2 separate regions of the Homo sapiens genome follow, and region 1 is linked to region 2. The links are contacts of gene promoters, found by promoter capture Hi-C in human tissues and cell types (Jung and others, 2019). All regions are on one chromosome and are shown on one strand. Each heading gives the region's core, a stretch centred on a gene start or on the middle of the fragment in contact. The rest is flanking DNA. Distances are from core to core; before and after follow the strand shown.

Evidence for each region. Contacts are between HindIII fragments. The study calls those that stand out against the background at their distance.
Region 1: a fragment that was not itself captured here is called in contact with the fragment with the promoter of LTK in region 2 in 3 of the 25 tissues and cell types used here (IMR-90 fibroblasts, bladder and lymphoblastoid cells).

What each region holds. Positions count from the first base shown.
Region 1 is chr15:41,932,254-41,935,375 of GRCh38, reverse strand. The region is part of intron 3 of EHD4 (EH domain containing 4); the gene reads left to right. Among named protein-coding and RNA genes, the nearest start is that of EHD4-AS1, 12 kb to the right of the region's middle. The HindIII fragment of the contact is 3,951 bases long and covers 1-3,122 here.
Region 2 is chr15:41,512,052-41,515,155 of GRCh38, reverse strand. LTK (leukocyte receptor tyrosine kinase) reads left to right here and starts at 1,329. Exons shown (of 20, transcript NM_002344.6): 1 at 1,329-1,489; 2 at 2,036-2,179; 3 at 2,278-2,449; 4 at 2,891-3,041. The coding sequence starts at 1,447. RefSeq lists a silencer at 1,964-2,043 and an enhancer at 1,750-2,497. The HindIII fragment of the contact is 13,334 bases long and covers 1-3,104 here.

The DNA.
Region 1 (3,122 bases), core at 415-2,914, 420 kb before region 2:
CCTACTATGTGTCAGGTGCCAGGTGCCTTAGGTTTCACAGCAACAGTGAGACCTCATGGCTGCCTTCATGAAGCATATACTAGGGGAGATAGAGGAGCCAAAACACAAAACAAATGCAATTGAAACAAAGACATGTCCCACAGCAAGGGGTGGGCAGTCAGGGAGGGCTCTCTGAGGAGGTGGCATTTAGGCTGGACGTAAAGAATGGAGGGTTTGCCTGGCAGAGAGTTGGGGGAAGAGCTCTTCAGCAGGAGGAGCTGCATTGGCAAAGGCAGAGAGTAGGTGAGACCTGGCAGATTCGGGGAAGGCAGAGGCTAGGGAGCAGCCAGGAAGTGGTGGGTGATGAGATCAGGAGGCCCCCCCGCCACCTGCTGTGAGCTGTAGGCCCTGGGGAAGTGCATAGATTTTTCTCTGAGAGTACCAGGAAGCCACTGAAGGATTGTCTTTTTCAATCTTCTGTTGATTACCTAGAATTATTAGGAATGTCCGGGTCTTCCTGTACTGGGCAAGAACAGCCCTGGGCCTGCCACTCAGTTCTCTGGGCGTGTTTGGTTGCTGGTTTTTCTCTTTCCTTCGGCCGTGCAATTGCTGTCCTTTCCTTCTCTGTCATACATGTGGCATATATGTTCTAGGCCAGCCTTTCCCTGCTGCCCCCTCCTGCTCTGGAGTCCACACGGCTGCAAATGATGCTCGGAAGACTAGCACGGTGAGCCCCAGGGTCCACAGACAGTTATCACCTGGGGAGCTGTTAAAATGCTGCTTCAGCCAGGCAGAGGGGCTCACACTTGTAGTCCTAGAACTTGAGGCTGAGTCGAGAGGATCACTTGAGGGCAGGAGTTCCAGACCAGCCTGGGCAGCATAGAGAGACCCAGTCTCCACAAAAAATAAAATAAATTAGTTGGGTGTGGTGGTGTGTTCTCGTAGTCCTATCTCCTTGGGAGGCCGAGGCAAGAGAACCTTGAGCCCAGTAGTTTGAGGCTGCAGTGAGCTATAATTGTGCCACTGTACTCCAGCCTGGGTAACAGAGCAAAACTCCATTTATTTATTTGAAAAAAAAAAAAAAAAACTTCCTGGCACATGGTTCAGGGGCATCTGGGCAGGGTCCAGAGGGTTCTGATACAGGGGGCCCCATTTTGAGGAATCTGGGTTAGGGCTGAGCCACCACTCCTGAGCCTGAGCCTGTCCCTCCTACATACCCTGCCATCCCCAAAACAAGTGAAAGAAGGGGCTGGCAAACTTGGAGAACCTACCGAAACCAACCTGGGCTTTGTCCTGCATCTCTGTATGCCCGAGGGTGAAGGCTGCCCTCTCAGAGAACGGAGGGGAGAACTTGAGTGAGAGAGACGATGGGGTGGGGCAGGCTCTGTGACTAACCAGCCTCCTTCCAGGGCAGGGCTTTGGAAGGAAGCAGAGGTGACTGTCCCGCAGGAGTCACCAAGTGACCCTGTCGGCCTCATGGGCGTCTGACAGGGAGGGCGTGAGGCCTGATGCTGGGTCCTCTGTCTGTGTCTCACTGCTTGCAGGAGCACCCCCGCCTAGCCTACTTCGGAAGCTAGGATTTTTAGGAACCCCTAATGAAAATAAAGAAGGAATTTTTTTAAGTTTTCAGGTACACTTTGAAACGTTTAATAACCTTCCCTGGTTTTATGGGGACATTCCTGTTACACAGCCTCAATCCCTGTTGCTAGAGGTGGTAAAGCTTCTCTCCCTCCTAATCACTGTGCACCAGTGGGGAACCCCCAGCCTAGAAGGTGGGAGGGAAAGATTATAAATGCAGGATTCTAGGTGGAAGAGAGGCAGTGGCAATCCATGCCGAGAAACACTGGCCGGGCACGTTTCTCCCTGTCCCTGGCTCTTTCCCTTGCCAGCTGGGCAACCTGGGCGAGTTACTTCACCTCTTTGAGCTTCATTTTCCCCTGCTCTAAAACAGGGGAAGGTACTTTCTCTCGTACAGTGGGATCTTACGAGAATCTGAATGATCTGTGTTCATACCTAAGTGCTCCATAGATATCAGCCGTTCCTGTTATCTATGAAGCTCAGAGTGAGAGGGAAACAGCAAAAGGTCCTCCCCAGGATACACGTGTGGCTTGAATTCAGGTTTCATGTACCTGTGCCCGGCAGGCAGGCAGGCATCTCGACCATCCAAACAAGCCTGTGGTTGGGGAAACGCTGAAAATAACAAGGCTTTCAGGGAGCATCTGTATTTTCCTTAGAAAGACAGAGGGAGGTGGGGAGATGCAGGCACACTCCTGTGGGCCCTGGAGGAGGCTGACCTGAGCTTGAATCCCAGCATGGGGCCCTGTGAGCCTCTTTCCGCTTTTATAAAGTGAGGGAATTTTCCTTCCCAGGGTTGTTTTGAAGATAACATGTGTAAACCATTTAACATGGATCATGATTAATAACTGGTGATAGGGGCGGTCATGATTCATTTTATAGAACTGGGGTGGTCCCAGAATAGACGGACCCAGCTCAGAGGGCCCTCTCGGCCAAGCGCTCAGCATTTCCCAGGGGAGGGCAGAGGATGGCCGAGTCCTGGGACTCAGACAAGGGCCTTGCTCTTCCAGAGATCCAAAGCAGGGGCGGTGAGGGTGCGTGAAGTATTTGGGCCTGACCGTAGAGCTATGGAAAGCCACGAGAGTGCAGACAAGGGCTGGAGGTGGGAAACCTGCTGAAGAGAATGACCCGGGAGCAGTGTTCCCGGGTGTGGCTGAGGGGCCCGGCTTCTGGCACTCCTCCAATTCTTTTTGCCATAATCCTCTTTCTTGTATCTAGGGATATTTCTCACACATGCCCTGATGCAGTTTCCTCAAGAAACCTCCATTCACCTGTAATCTTAGTCTCTTTCTCAAAATTGCCTCCTGTTGGAATCCAAATCGAGATGCAAAGCACAAATCAGACCATGTATGCAGCGTTTCACCTTTCTGAAGCACCCTGCGGTGGGTAGGTGTGTATGTGCTTGGGACAAAAGGCTACAAAAAGATAGTGAAGAATGTCTGTACCACCCATATCCCCCAGTTCCTCTCCCAGAGCAGACCCTGCCTGCAGACCCTGGGGCTTCTCCCAGCTCACCCGCCCACTCACGTGGAGCCCTGGCGGGATTCGCTCCACTGCCCTGTGTCTTG
Region 2 (3,104 bases), core at 80-2,579:
CGTCCCCTTGGCCTCCCAAAGTGCTGGGATTACAGGTGTAAGCCACCACGCCTGGCTGAGACCAGACTTTTTACAAAATCACTGTTCTGTTTACACCTTGAATTATACTCAGACTTTACCAAGTAGCTAACTACTATAACTTCTCTTTTGAAGTATTTTGTATTAAACATAGGTCTCAGACTTTCAAGTTAGGATTTTTTTTTTTTTTTTTTTTTTGAGATGGGGCTTTGCTCTTGTTGCCCAGGCTGGAGTGCAATGGTGCGATCTCGTCTCTGCAACCTCTGCCTCCCAGGTTCAAGCCATTCTCCTGCCTCAGCCTCCAGAGTAGCTGGGATTACAGGCGTGCGCTACCACGTGTGTCTGATTTTGTATTTTTAGTAGAGACGGGATTTTGCCATGATGGTCTAGCTAGTCTCGAACTCCTGACCTCAGGTGATCTGCCCGCCTCAGCCTCCCAAAGTGCTAGGATTACAGGCATGAACCACCGCACCCGGCAAATGATCATTTAAGCAAATGATCGAAGACTCAAGACACAAAACTACCTGAAGGGAGTGGCTCCCACATTTGTAGGGTACCTTACAGAGCAATTTCCCTTCATATGATTTTGCAGGTGGTGGGGAAACTCTCAGGGCAGTTGTGGCCTGTGCTACATCACCCATTGACCAGAGGTGCCAGTACTAGTGCTCAAGATCAATCGATCGATCGGTCTACCTACCTATCATCTATTGACCTTCAGTGCTACTAAAAACACTCGGATCTTCTAACGTCTGGTCCAGTCTTTCACCCCATCACAGTGAGAGGCTGTGCACAGGGGTAACACAGGCAACGGAATTATATGAGGCAAACACAGAGATCCAGGTTTCTGGGAGTAGCAATGAGGTTCAGCCTTGCAGTCACAAAGGCACCACTAAAAGGCACAAGTAATGGCAGGTAATGAGGCCTTACTTGGAGCAGTTTAGAGTACTTCCCACGTGTGGTGACGCATGCCACACACTCACCACCACCACCACTGCCACAAATGAAGTGCACACTCCACTGCTCCTGTCCTCAGGAACCTGGAAGCCCCCACCTGGTGTCCGAGGTGTGGCTCCCACTTTAAGCGTGGGGCACCTCCTCTCCGGCCTCAAACCTACCGGAGCTCCCAGCAGGCTGCGGCACATCTGACGGCTGGAAACTAGAACCCCTGGGTGGGGACTCCTTAAGGCTCCTCCCGGAAGCGTAGGGACCTCGCTGCCCACACGCCCCTCCCTTTCCTCCTCTGGCGTCCTGGGGTCTGAGGTGGGCGTGGCCAGACCAGCTTTAGGTCCGGGGAGTGTCTCGCCAGCGGCAGCACACCCCTGTAAGTGGTGGCCAGGGCTGCCGTGGCAAAATGAGCTGTCAACTTTAGGTTGACAGGGGTGTGGCCGCGACCGCAAGGGCTTTTGTTGCCGGGTGGACCCAACAGGGATGGGCTGCTGGGGACAGCTGCTGGTGTGGTTCGGAGCCGCGGGTAAGTGCTATCTGGCGGTCAGGGGACCGTCCAGCCTGAGGCACTTTCCTAGGCTTGGGGGTGGCCGGTCAACAGGCCAGGTGTCAGTGGTTCCTCCAGAGGCCTCGAACTCTCACAGCCAAATTTCTCCGGTCCGTGCTTCTGGAGTGCGGGCCGAGAAGCGCCAAGTGCGTGCGAATCCCAGAGTCTGGATCACGCAGCTTGGGAAGGAGGAACATTCTTTGGGGTCTCAGCACCGCCTTGGGGCGGGGCCACCAATCTAAGTTGAGGAAAGCATTGGGGAGGCTGCAGGACCAAATTCATTGCGGCCCCTAAGTTATTCACTGGGAAAGGCGCTCGAGGAGAGAAACTGGCAGACCTATCAGCGCGCACCCGCGGGGCTTCTGCGACCGGAGTCGGGTAGTGGCTTCCAGGCTGAGAGCGCGGCTGGGCCGGGTGACGGGTGTGGCCGCGACCGCAAGGGCAGCTGTTGCGGGGTTCTCTCTTTCTTTCATATCCTATTTCCACCCGCCTTAACGTCCTGCGCCTTCTCCCAACACCTTTCAGGCGCCATTCTCTGCTCTAGCCCGGGGTCCCAGGAGACTTTTCTGCGGTCCTCGCCCCTGCCGCTGGCAAGTCCCAGCCCCCGGGACCCGAAAGTCAGCGCCCCGCCTAGTATCTTGGAGCCAGCCTCCCCGCTGAATTCTCCGGGTGAGCTTTAGACGCCTCCTTCCTCTTTCGCTCACCATACCAGACCCCTCTGGCCCAGCCAGGGGCTCGACGACCCTTGCCTCGCTCCTTGCTCTCAGGCACCGAGGGGTCTTGGCTGTTTTCTACCTGCGGGGCCAGCGGCCGGCATGGGCCCACACAGACACAATGTGACGGGGCGTACGCGGGGACCAGCGTGGTGGTGACCGTGGGGGCCGCCGGGCAGCTGAGAGGCGTGCAGCTGTGGCGCGTGCCGGGCCCTGGCCAGTATCTGTAAGTGCACGGCGGAGGTAGGGTGGACAGTGACCTGCTAGTTGGAGGTTTCACCCTCAGGGTAACGAAGTCCACGTGCGCACCGACTTGCGTCTTGGACTATTCCGCGGGGAGGTCCACCTTGAGTGCCCTTCAAGGTGGCAGTAGTCGCCACCGAGTTAGCCCTTACCCGGAACCTCTTACACCGAGCGGAAGGCCCCCAACCAGGGCGGCGCCAAGGGGTGCTTGAGCCTCCCCACATTTCCACGAACCCTCCTGAAATAAGTGTAATATCTGATTTTTCGGTGTGCAAACCTACCCTTCCCATCCCGTCAGAGTCGATTGCAGCCTCCAAGTCCCTCAGATAAAAAATAATTCTGGAGCCTCCTCTGTCGCCAACTTCTGCCCGGAGCGGCCGGCCTGAGCACCGAAGGCCGGGGACTCACCGTCCGTTCCCCGCAGGATCTCAGCCTACGGAGCCGCGGGCGGCAAAGGCGCCAAGAACCACCTGTCGCGGGCGCATGGCGTCTTCGTCTCAGCAATCTTCTCCCTCGGTCTCGGGGAGTCGCTGTACATCCTGGTGGGGCAGCAGGGAGAGGACGCCTGTCCCGGAGTGAGCGCAGCCAGTGGGGATGGGGCGGCGCCGGCGCCGGGGGCGAGGGCTGCCTGGGGGCCG